Regions from separate parts of the Homo sapiens genome. Here region 1 is linked to region 2. The links are contacts of gene promoters, found by promoter capture Hi-C in blood cells and fetal thymus (Javierre and others, 2016). All regions are on one chromosome and are shown on one strand. The core of a region is centred on a gene start or on the middle of the fragment in contact, and the rest is flanking DNA. Distances in the headings are between cores, read along the strand shown.

Region 1 (5,862 bases), core at 1,783-4,282, 240 kb after region 2:
TCATTTCAGAAGCAGAGGCCCAGTATTTCTGGGAGATTTTGGGTCATTGACCTTCCCCACTACTCCTGAATTTTTTTCAGTCTTTGGAGAGCCTGTGCAGAATAATCATGTATTGGGCAGGAGGTTGAAGTAGATGTTCCTGAGGGTTTTGCTACTCAAAGTGTGGTCCACAGACCAGCAGCATCTGCATTACCTGGGAGCCAGTTAAAAATGCAGAGTCTCAGGCCCATCCAGACCCACTGAATCAGAATCCACATTTAAGCAAGTTTTCCAGATGATTTGTTTGTACAGTGAAGTTTGAGAAGCTCTGCTAAGGTGCCTTTCCTTTTGGGAAACTGGTGACTTTCCAACTTCCTGTATTTCTTCTTCTACACTGGAAAGGAGACCAAGTTCTACTTTGTCCCTCCCAGTATTCTAAATGACCACAGCTGTCCCCATCAGACTGTGAGGGGTTGGATACCTCTGAAGCCCATCTGAATGCCTCCAGGATGCTGGAAGCACTGGTCTTGGATTTGAATCCTGGATCTGATCTTTACGATCTTAAGCAAGTTACCAATCTCTTGGAGGCTCAGCTCCAGTGAGAGTAGCACTGCCTGTCTCAGAGGGCTGCAGTGAGGGGGTAAATGAAACAACATATATAGGAAATGATGCCTGTTAGCACTCTGCAAACGGCAGCCCTGATAGTGATTATGGTGATGATGATGATGATGGCACTGAGGAAAAAGTAACTTCTAAAAGAACGAATTGACAACCAGGAAAGAGATGATTAGCTCATTGGACAATGAAAATAAGCTTTAAAACTAATCATAGGCTACTGCAGTGGCTCATACCTGTAATCCTAGCACTTCGGGAGGTTGAGGTGAAGGATTGTTTGAGGCCAGGAGTTTGAGACTAGCCTGGGCAACATAACAAGACCTCATTTCTACAAAAAATAAATATTAAAAAAATTAGCTGGGCATGGTGGCACACACCTGCAGTCCCAGCTACTCAGGAGGCTGAAGTGGGAGGATCACTTGAGCCCAGGAGTTCAAGGCTGCAGTGAACGATGATAGCACCACTGCACTCCAGCCTGGGCAACAGAGTGAGATCCTGCCTCAAAGAAAAAAGAAAAGTAATCATAGACTGCATCATGATGGTCTCTGCCTGACAGAATGAATGAAAGTTTAAAGGAGAGGTTTTTTTTGGCATGGGTTTTGGAAGAAGAGGAGTAGTATTCTCAGAGAGTGAAACTTACCCAGAAAAACAGAGGAGAGTTTAAAGGGAAACCCCATTGCTACCTTTTTTGGCCTCTTTACTCTGTTTTTACTTTCTTCATATCACAATGCTGTACCAATTTTACCAAGTACACATTTGTCCCTTCATGAAGATATCGCACTCTCCTCTGGAGGGAAAAGTAAGTATCATTTTTGCTTTTTCTGAAGTTTAAATTAATGAGGAAGGACAAGTAAATGTTTGAAGTACCAAAGTCTAAAACCTCAATTTAAAAATTTCAACTTTATGAAGTTTACTTAAAATGATTGTTCTCAGTGACTCCTATCATCCTATCATGCCCCCAAACACAGTGACTGCCCATCGTGGAATTCAGCTTCTCTCTTATTTTCCACCCTATAGAATCCCCTTTCTTCAGTTCCCCTCAGCCACTCCTGTTCCCAAGAAGTATGAAAATGATATTTATTATAATAATAAATGTTGGCCTCTTCAAAGATAGAAAGAACTGTTCGTAGGATGGGGTTAAGGGACCAGATGCCAAGGAATGTTTTCATTGTCTTTTCAAAATGCTGAGGGAAAAGGAGAATGAGCAAGCTTTGGTATTTCCCATTAGCAGCTGCAGGGCACAAGGTCACGGGCTCTGGCCCTGCAGGAACATAAGAATACCGAATACGAAAGACTCCTTCCTTATTCTCTGTAAGGCACACCGTGGAATTACCTATTATGGCCATGAATTGCCACTTTATTTTCAAAGCCATGAAAGACAAGAAAAGCCAAATTAAAAAAAAAATCCTCATCTTAAATCTTTTCAATTTTTAAGTCTGTAAATACAGGGGTCAGGACAAGAGGTCTTTCTTTCAAAACATACCTTATGTCAGGTTGCACCATTGTGTAATATTTAGCAAGCAATATTTATCTCATCTGGGAGGTAAAGGATTTTTACCAGCTCTACTCACAAAGCAATTTATGGCCACATGCTGAAATTTATTAGAATTAGGTCTTCAACTTTCCATTTACATCTTGGGCACTGAGTTTGATTGGGTGTTGATTGGTTCTGAGGCTTTGCACTTGGTTCCAAAATTGGTGGCTTGCAGAATCTATGAGGTGGGAAGAAGGATGAGAGGATAAGGGGAGTTGCTAAGGTCTGACCTCAGAAATTTCCTTAACTGGAATTAATTTCTCCCTCCTGTCTTCTGGAGCACTGCGTACCTCACTTTAGGCACATGTCTGGCATGCCTAGTACTATGTATTGTCCTCATTTGGGGACCTGCAGCTCAGCAATGTGGCAAAGTCATTAAGGACTCGGAAGCCAACTACCTGTGCTTTTATCCTGCCTCTGCCACCAATTATCTGTGGAAGCCTAGGCAAGATATTCTCTGCTTCAGTCCCCTTATTTGCAAAATGTAGATGGTAGTAGTACCTTCCTTAGAGGGTCATAGTGAAAATTCAGTGGTTGAGTTAATACATGCAATGCAATTGAAACTGCCTGGCGTATAATAATTGGTGTGTTTGCTTGCTATTTCTCATCCCAGCTGCCTGACCCTCAGCTCCGGGAAAGAATTCATCTTCATATTTTCATAGTGCCAGGTGTAGTGCCATTCTGTAGTTCACATTTACTCATTCCACAAATACTTAATACATGCCTACAGTGGGCCAGGCACTGACTGACAGACATGATTGCTATGAAATGTATGGCTTTGCTGGAGAGATCGGCAAGTATTACAATACTTCTAATTGGGGAAGTGTGGGATGCAATAGAGTAAGTATCGGGGGTGCTTCTCTTGAACCTATGGGGGGCAGGCTAGGTTTCCTGGAGGAAAGTGATGCATCAGCAAAGTCTCGGATGAGCAGGTAAAGGGCACAGAGAGTTTTGGATGAAGAGAAGTGCCTATCAGGAAGGTGTCCTATGGATAACTCAAATGAGTGAGGGAATGAAAATAAATTTTGGTCAGCTTTTGAGAAGATGAGGGAATCCTAACGTCCTCTTAAATTGTTTTGGTTGAATGAGGAATGCCTAGGCACTCCTGATGGTCATGTTTTAATTCCCAGAATAAGGATGAATGATGGAAGAGGGCTGCCTAGAAGACCTCGTGGAGCAAAGGGCTTTGTGCTGAAATCAGGACTTGGACACATCCACGTGCTTTCTGAAGCACATTGCTTCCTTAATTGTTTTCTTATATAGTAGTTTCTTTTTATGCTCGGGGAATATGTTCCAAGACCCCCAGTGGATGCCTGAGACTGTGAGTAGTACCAAAGCTATAAATACTATATTTTTTCAATCTGATAACCATGACAGCTACTAAGTGACTAATGGGCAGGTAGTGTATACAGCATAGAAATACTGGACAAAGGGATGATTCATGTTCCAGGCTGGATGGAGCGAGATGGCATAAGATTTCATCACGAGACTCAGAATAGTGTGCAAAGTAAAACTTATGCATTGTTTATTTCTGGAATTTTCCATTTAATATTTTCAGACTGCGGTTGACTATGGGTAGCTGCAACTTTGGAAAGCAAAACCGTAGAGAAGAAGGGACTGCTGTACATATGTTTTATTGCCCTCTCATTCGGAATCTTGCAATGTCTCTAGCAACTTACCCTGATGGTATTGGCAGGCATTTTGACTGCAGATGAGTAAAAAGTTTATTGCAAAGAAAACATAGATCAGGCTTCCTTCCTTGTCTGCCCAGAACCTAACATTTTGAAACTCTGCCATCTTTGAAGGGGGTTTTGTTCCTATGTGGGTTGCTGTGGCTGACCCTCTACTCCATTTTTGAAGGAGATTTGTTCCTAACTGGGTTGCTATGGCAGCCCCTCCATTCCCTCTTTGAAGAGGGTTTTGTTCCTATCTGAGTTGCTGTGGCCGCCCCTCCACTCCCAAAGAGACTCATCCTTATCCTTTTCTATCTTCCTCACCATGTATTCATAGGACAAAGCTGACTTTTGAACTGGAAGACAGTGGGTTTAACTAAAAATAAGATTGGTTAGTCATTTAAAAGCTACAGAGACTGAGAGGCAAAACTTTCCAAACTCTTATTAGGTCCCCTCATTGGGAAGCTTTGGCATTGGGCAGAGGTGAGCCTCTGCCTCCCTTTCCTTTGAGAAGAATGGAAGTAGCCCTTGTCAACACATAGCACCTTTCTCTGAAGATAAATCCCTGATTGAGTTGGAAGCCTGGCTGCTTTCCCTGCCCCTTCATAGCAGGGTCCCTTTGACTCTCAGTAACTTTTTCAGCATTTCACTCAACATGATCAATAGCTTTTCGTTAATGCTTCTGGGCCCAGAGGAAGCAGAATAGATGAGAGAAGGCAAGTGGATTGATAAATACCTTAGAATCACCCAAAGGTAAATGGTTTTTTTATATATAGAATCCAAGAGAGAGATTCACTCTAAATGCATACCTTTCCTCAAGACAGGTGAGACTGCATTGCTCTCTGGAGGGGGCTGAATTGGCCATCAGCATCTTAAGAATGAGCCTATCTTTGCTTTCCTTTCCATGAAGAAGGAAATGTCCTTAGGACAAATCTCTCCTAGGATAACTTTCCAGAACAATTGGACATATCCACTGATTTTACCAAAAAGCCTATGTTTTTGTTTTTCTGGTGAGTTTATCATTCTGCAAAATGTGGGAGCTAGAATTGGATTACATAGTAATTTCTCATGAGAAGACAGCAGTGAAATTAGGTAAGTGGCAGGGTTTATGTTCCAGCCTCTTTGCCATGCCAGCTTGTGTGTTTCACATTTGGACAATGCCCTCAGAATTGTCTAGCTCATGTGCAGGGTGGGCACACAGTTAGGGAAATACAACAGAACAGCCACTGTTAGAGCCTTGGGGCTGAGAAAATCCCACCACCTAAAAAAGCAACTGGAGAGTGGAATCCCATGGTTCTCAGTGAAAATGGAAATGGTGACATTTTATTTCTCTAGCTGGGGACCCATATGGGCTGACTTCTAGAGCAGGGTTTTCAAACAGCATTTTATGGACCCATGCTTCCTTTCTTCTAGTCCCCATTGTATCTCCCTAATAAAACCATGATCACCTATTGTTGCTTATTTATTTATTGATATGCCGCAGCTTATAAGATTATATAGCCCTTGCATTGTAATAGTCTCTCCTAAAATAGCATTCACTTAAAAATGATCAAAGTACAGTTGATCCTTGAACAACATGGGTTGGAGCTGCCTGGGTTCACTTATATGTGAATTTTCTCCCCGCTGTGCCACCTCCAAGGCAGCAAGAACAATTATTTCTCTTCCTCCTCAGGTTATTCAATGGGAAGATGATGAGGATGGAGATCTTTGTGATGATTCACTTTCACTTAATGAACAGTAAATATATTTTCCTTTTCTTTGTGATTTTCTTATGAAAATGTTAATTTTCTTTTCTACAGCTTACTTTATTGTAAGGCTACAGTGTATGATACATTGTATGATACATATAACATACAAAATATGTGTTAATCAACTATTTATGTTATCAGTAAGGCGTCTGGTCAATGGTAGGCTATTAATAATTAAATTTTAGGGAGTCAAAAGTTATAAACAGTGAATTTTTGGTTGTTCAGGGTATCGATGCTCCTAACTCCCATATTATTCAAGGGTCAACTGTAATAGATGAATATCATAAAAAACATCAAACACTGCAAAGTATAC
Region 2 (6,595 bases), core at 3,741-6,240:
GATCTGTTATTGTTGGATCCATTTCTTGAAGAAAACTCATTATTACAAGACCCACAGTGCACTATTTTATTATCAGCAGAGATACAGAAATGGCTTTGCTATCCAGCACCCTTTTAGGAACAGCATTCATTCAGCAGGACAGAAAATACCAGTGTCCTTTTTCAGCTCAACCATCCCTCATTGCCCCTCCTTCCCTGTCTCTTTCTGAAGAACTTAGATGTCTGCAATTTACTGTCTCCTAGGCTTCCCTGATCACAAGAACCACTCCTGGGGGTTCTGATTTAGTGGAGCTAGAGCACAGCCCACCAGTCTCTTTTCCCCTTTCCCCTCAGGTGGCCCTTATGATCAGCCAGGTTTGGGAAACCTGTTTTCTTTGGCTGAGACGGGACTCCTGCAGGTGAAGTTTGGAAAGAAGGCTCTGTTCTGTCCGGTGCTCTCTGAGCAGCCAGTGTTCATATGGGTCAGTGATGACTGTCAGAAGGAGCCTGGCAGGAAACACCCATGTGAGTGTCTTCCACTCATATGACAAGAGGTTCTGTGTTTTTTTTTAAGAACATTGCACATAAGCTTTTACTAGTAAAGCAATGCAACATTTAAGAACATAACCATTTCTAAATTCTTAGCAGTTCTTAAGGAGATAAGGTTGTCACACTAGAAGAGTGGCCTGTGGTTTGAATTTCACATTCCTCCACCACTACCCCTGGCTGTCTTCTCCCCAGAAAGCCTCCCTAACTAGGTGCAGGGATAGCCAATCTTTTGGCTTCCCTGGGCCACAATGGAAGAAGAATTGTCTTGGACCACACATAAAATACACTAACACTAACGATAGCTGATGAATTTTTAAAAAAAATCTAAAAAAAAAAAAAAATCTCATAATGTTTTAAGAAAGTTTACGAATTTGTGTTGGGTTGTATTCAAAACCGCCCTGGGCCGCATGCAGGACCACAGATTGGACAAGCTTGACGTAGGGCATCTTGGTTGTGCAGCTGCGGCCCACCTTTTTTTTTTTTTTTTTTTTGAGATGGAGTCTTGCTCTGTCACCCAAGCTGGGGTGCAGTGGCACAATCTCGACTCACTGCAACCTCCGCCTCCCAGGTTCAAGCCATTCTCCTGCCTCAGCCTCCCAGGGAGCTGGGACTACAGGCATGCGCCACCACGCCCAGCTAATTTTTTTTTTTTTTTGAGACGGAGTCTTGCTCTGTCGCCCAGGCTGGAGTGCAGTGGCACAATCTCCACTCACTGCAAGCTCCGCCTCCTGGGTTCACACCATTCTCCTGCCTCAGCCTCCCAGGTAGCTGGGACTGCAGGTGCCCGCCACCAGGCCCAGCTAATTTTTTTGTATTTTTAGTAGAGACAGGGTTTCACTGTGTTAGCCAGGATGGTCTCCATCTCCTGACCTCGTGAGCCGCCCGCCTCGGCCTCCCGAAGTGCTGGGATTACAGGCGTGAGCCACCGCGCCCGGCCTTTATTTGCATTTTTAGTAGAGATGGGATTTCACCATGCTGGCCAGGCTGGTCTTGAACTCCTGACCTCAAGTGATCCTCCTGCCTTGGCCTCCCAAAGTGCTGGGATTACAGACGTGAGCCACCACGCCTGGCCTGCAGCCCACCTTTTATGTGCACTGCACCATCTGCATGGGGACAGCAGTGAAGCTGTCCCCCTCCTGAAGCTACTAGGGGAGGATGTGGGGGGAGGAGGCAGTCCAGTTTCTAACATACTAGACTCTGAGCTGGGGACGAGGCTGGGCTGTTGGAGCAGCAATTACCTTATCTGCTCTAAGTCCGTGGAGCTGTGGACACCCAAGGCTATTTTTATCCAAACAAGATGAAATTTATTATTTGCCAAAATTCTGCTCAATATGGTGCCTTTTACAGCCAAGGATATTTGCTAATGAGTTTTTAATAAGGCCTATGTTCTATAAGATTAATTACATAATGTTTGGGAAAATGTCTAGAAAAATTAGTCTGAGAGGAAAGGCCCCAAGCAATGATCTCCTTCCCTCATCTCACAGGGTGGGGTTGTCAGTTATCTCATATTGGTGGAAATTTCCCATATTTCAATGCCTTGTTCCATTTACAATAATGTGGATGAAAAATGGCCTCAATATTGGAGCCCAGTTCAGTTGTCCCCTGATTATTATTACTCCAGTGCTTCATAGTCCTCCAGCTAAATTTCAGTAAACCTGTCCTAAGGGGATTTACCCACATGAAAAGGATAGGAGGTGAATTACAGCTGGTTCTCCTCTATAAACCAATATAGAGGAGCCGAGGCACAGATAATCCCCAAAGAGTGGATAATCCATTTGGTTTGACAAGTCTTTCTGTTTGACAAAGACTTACCTTTTTTGATTACGTTTTGTCTGAGCTATTTAGATTTGTATTCAGGCAAAGCAGACCTGTGCATGTGCTATGCCTAGGTGGTGCAAAAATTACTCTATTTAGTATTTTGTGATTTGTTTTTCATACTTAAGTCATATGGATCAGGGAGAAAAAAACTATCATGATTTTCTTCATTCTCCTGTCTGTATAGGATATAGCAATAATTTTGATTGTTGACAATAAAATGTGATTCACTATTCCTCTGAATTCTTAGCATTTAATACTGCTCTCCTGAACCAGACAACCAACCATCTTGCAGTAAAGTAAAATATATGAAAAAAGGGAGCTGTGCTTATTCAGTATGATTGTTTAATCTCTCTTTTTAGAAGCCTGTCAGTTAGTGATGTTTACCTTGAATAATTAAATGACAAATGGTATTCATTTTAAAATATATCATGTCCAGAATCTTTACCAAAAAAAAGCATAGCTATTGTTATCCCCCATTGACCTATACCATTGAGGCTTTGTTATTTAAAAGATAGCATTTACATTCTAAAACCACAGAATTTCCCAAAGAGATGACAATCTAAACCCTGCTATTAATGGAGATGTAGATATTGAAATCATTCTCTTATTCACATTTGCTGTTTCAAACATGAGCATCTGGCCCAGCTTCTATATTTAAAATACAAATACATTAAGGCACTTTTCAAATACCCACAAAATACAGTGCAATTCTGATCTTACAAATCGATGCTTGTAAATTTGATATAGTCTCTAAAACAGACTCGGTGCTAAATGGCATGCTTATCTACATTAGACATTTGAGTTAAAAATACAAATTATGCAGTGACTGCAGAAGACGTGATGTGTAAAATGGTTGAATTGCTTTCAGCACCATTTTCTGTAAGTACTGGAATTCGTTCATGCTTTGCATTTCATGGTAGGAGAGAGGAAAAAACAGCAATCACCAATCCTCTGAGGATAGTGATTATGAAAGAGCCCTTTGTGTGTGCCCTGGAGATGGAATTCTTTTCCATTAGTTGAAATAAGCTTATACCAGACCTGGCAGTGGTCATCAAGATAAAATGCCCCCTTTTACATAGGTGAACACTTTCAGAGTATTTAGAGAACACACTGGAGCTCTGCCCAGTCAACTTAGAAACAGTCTTTATACTCCTCGAGAGCCGTGGAGCTTTAAAATAAATAGTTGCATACAAAGAAAGTAGGACAGCAGTTAGTAAAACACCTACTATTAAACCACATGTGATGACTAGGCCAGAATTAATTGTTAAAGAGATTTTCCACCTTTAAGGAAGTTAGACGTTTTGTTTGTTTGTTTGTTTTTTGTTTTTGTTTTCCAGAGAGAGAAGGGAATGTTCATGGCTAGGTCACAAAAAAACCTTCTGAAAGGCAAAAATTCCTTCCCAATGGGTCTGAATATGGGTCTGAATATTCCTCCACTATCTTTGTCCTGGATTTTAAACCCACAGCCTTTCTTAGCAGGGACAGGCCTTAGAGATCGTCCAGTTCCATTTTTTCCCTTCAGGACGAGTACACTGAGGCCAAAAGGTGACGTGCCTTCCCCACGGTCGCGCCACTGCTTAGTGGGAGATGAGCCGAGAACGGCCTTTCTCGGACCGTCCACTACATTCTCCCCTACTCTACGCTTCAATCTTCTCCCGTGAAACCTTCACTTGCTTTTCTACAACGTTGACCTAAGGCGGAAAGCCGCGTGCCAGAGTGGGATGGGAGAGGGGAGCTCACGCTGGGCCCGAGGGGCCCGCCGGCAGCCGCGCGCCCCTCGCCGGCCCGCGCTCGGGCTCCCCCTAGGGGCACCATGGGCGACACGGGGGTCCCCGCGCGCCGCCCTCTGGACTTACGTGACTGTCGCTCCCCTTCCAGAAGTAGAAGGCCCCGATGGCCCCAAAGAGCAGCAGCACAGCTCCCGAAATGAGGACCACGGCTCCCACCTTGAGCAGCCGCGCGGGGCTGGAGGGCTTCACCGTCAGCGTAGCGTACGCCTGCGGGCCGGGGCGGGAGAGGGACCGTCGCGTTTGTGCCGCCAGCACCTGCGGCCCCCAGCGCACCCGGGCCCCACGCGGTAGCCCCCAGGGAGTGGGGAGTCGGGCGGGAAACAGCTCGCCCGGGCTCCTACGGGTGCCCCTTTCGCCGCGCTCCCTCCCGAGGGTCCTTTGCAGTCGGGCGTGGAAGTGGGATGAGCAAACCCCGCAGCACAGGGCCTTCGCCCCAGGACCTGCACCCTCTACCGGCCACGGGACGTCCCTCCGCACCCGCCTGTGGATGCCGTGACCCCTGCACACTCATACGCGTGGGGCGACATCCCACCCACACATTTGGGACCCAAATTTATCCCCCCGCCAACACACCCATTCGGTGGCACGCACCCCTGAGTCCGAACTGTGGAACCTGATACTCACACAACCCAGGCCCTGCGTGTGGAATCCCTGGCGGTACTCACCGGGGGGCTGCAGAATTCCACGTCATCAGGTCCCACCAGGGCAATGGGAACTTTGTCGGAGTTCTCTGTCATGTTTGCGGCGGGAGGAGTGAGGCACTTGGAGACTCCCTGGGCACCCTGGGATCTGTCCCGCTGCCCCGACGTGCAGGGCATTTCAACGCCGCGCGCACACACGGTGCACGGTCCCGCCTGGGCCAGCCCAGCGGTCCCCACCCCTTCCAGCGCCTCACCTCTCTCCTCCCTTCTCTCTCCCGCCGCGGGAAGCTCGTCCTGCACTCCCGGATGCCCCCTTTCCTCCTCACTCTATCCTGTCTACTGGCCCCCCAAACAGCATCCCGGTGACTCTGAATGTGTGGGGGTGGTTGCATCCCTCAGAGCGGGATGCTGAATCCTGGGACCCAAAGAAATACTCAAGTGCCAGAGCAATTAGCCATGCACCGGAGGATGTCTTAGAATGTCAGCGGGCTCTGCTGTGACAACTGGCTGGAGGCCATTTCCTGCAGGGTCTTTGTAGGTGTGTGTTGGGGTGGGGGTGGGGGGAAGATGGCTCATGGAAGGTGAAGGAGAAGACAACAGAGTGGTGCAGGTGGACAGGGGACACTGGCCTAAGAGTGTAAGGGTTAGGCCACCTTCTCACTGGCCTGGCATTGCTGGATGGCCCCTGGGACTGGAAAACAGAGCAGGGTCTTAGGGATGGCTCCTTGCCACCAGTTTTTCTAGGGTCTGGGTACAACTGCAGCAAAAGTGAGAGCTAAGCAGAGCAGGGCTGGAGGGAAGGAGTTGGGGAGACCAGAATAAAAGTGCATGCTGGTTGGTTGAATAAATTAAATAAGTGCAAACAAAAGCAACAATGGCAAAGCACACACACACACACACACACACACACAGAGTACTGATGTATCCAAAGGAATAACACAAATGTGTGTGTGTGTGTGTGTGTGTGTGTGTATGTATGTATGTATATAAAATTTTCACTTTTGGAAATGCCATCTTCCAGTTCCAGGATACATGGTACTTCATTTGGATCCAGGCTTCCTTAAATTGCGTTCGATTCTAGCTTTGTGCAGAGCTCTCTGGTGAGGTGTAAGTGAGGAGCACTAGTGCATGAGAGGGATTGAGGCTTCCCCAAAGGGCAGCGGGAGATTGCATGTGCAGGACTGCAGAAGGAGAAAGTGTTGAAGAATCATCCAAGACATGTGATGAAGAATGAGGTGACAAGCATGATGACCTGGGGCTGGGAAGGAGGGGAGAAGTGGAGGAGACCACTTTCACAGAAGAATCGATAGGACTTGGCAATTCCTGGGCTGTGGGAACTGAGTTTTCAGACCTAGGAGGATTGGGAGAGTGATAGGAACCCTAGGGAAGTGAAAAAATTGGAAGAAACAGTTTTAGACATGTTGAGCTTGATGTGGGGATGAAAAGTAAAAGAGCCAAGGAAATGTCCTGAGCCTGCATTGGAATCAGCTATGGAAACAGCTGTCTGCACATCACACTAGACTTAAGGTGCTTGGAAAAAACTCCAGCAAGATCTCCAGCCAGGGCTCATCCCTGGGGCACTGCTGAGGCAGAGTTCAAAGACCTCTTTTCACAAGGGCATTCTTCACAGGAATTTTGGTGAAGGAATAAGAGAAGTAACTGTCAGAGAGGTGGGAGATGGTACAATATAAAGTAGTACATGTAATTTTAAAGGCACATTCAAGAAGGGTGGGTCAGCAGTGTCAAATGCTGAAAAAAAATGAGCACAGAGAAAGGCCTTGGAAGGGCACAACCAAGAGGCCATGGGAACCAGCGAGAG

Evidence for each region. Contacts are between HindIII fragments. The CHiCAGO score rates a contact against its expected background, and 5 or more counts as called.
Region 1: a contact is called between a fragment that was not itself captured here and the fragment with the promoter of CNMD in region 2, in 1 of 17 cell types (endothelial precursors). The highest score is 6.4, in endothelial precursors.

What each region holds. Positions count from the first base shown.
Region 1 is chr13:52,977,344-52,983,205 of GRCh38, forward strand. No RefSeq gene overlaps it. Among named protein-coding and RNA genes, the nearest start is that of OLFM4, 49 kb to the right of the region's middle. The HindIII fragment of the contact is 2,463 bases long and covers 1,802-4,264 here.
Region 2 is chr13:52,734,830-52,741,424 of GRCh38, forward strand. It overlaps CNMD (chondromodulin), which reads right to left and starts at 4,991. Exons shown (of 7, transcript NM_007015.3): 1 at 4,801-4,991; 2 at 4,202-4,342. The coding sequence starts at 4,872. RefSeq lists an enhancer at 2,561-3,062. The HindIII fragment of the contact is 4,345 bases long and covers 3,370-6,595 here.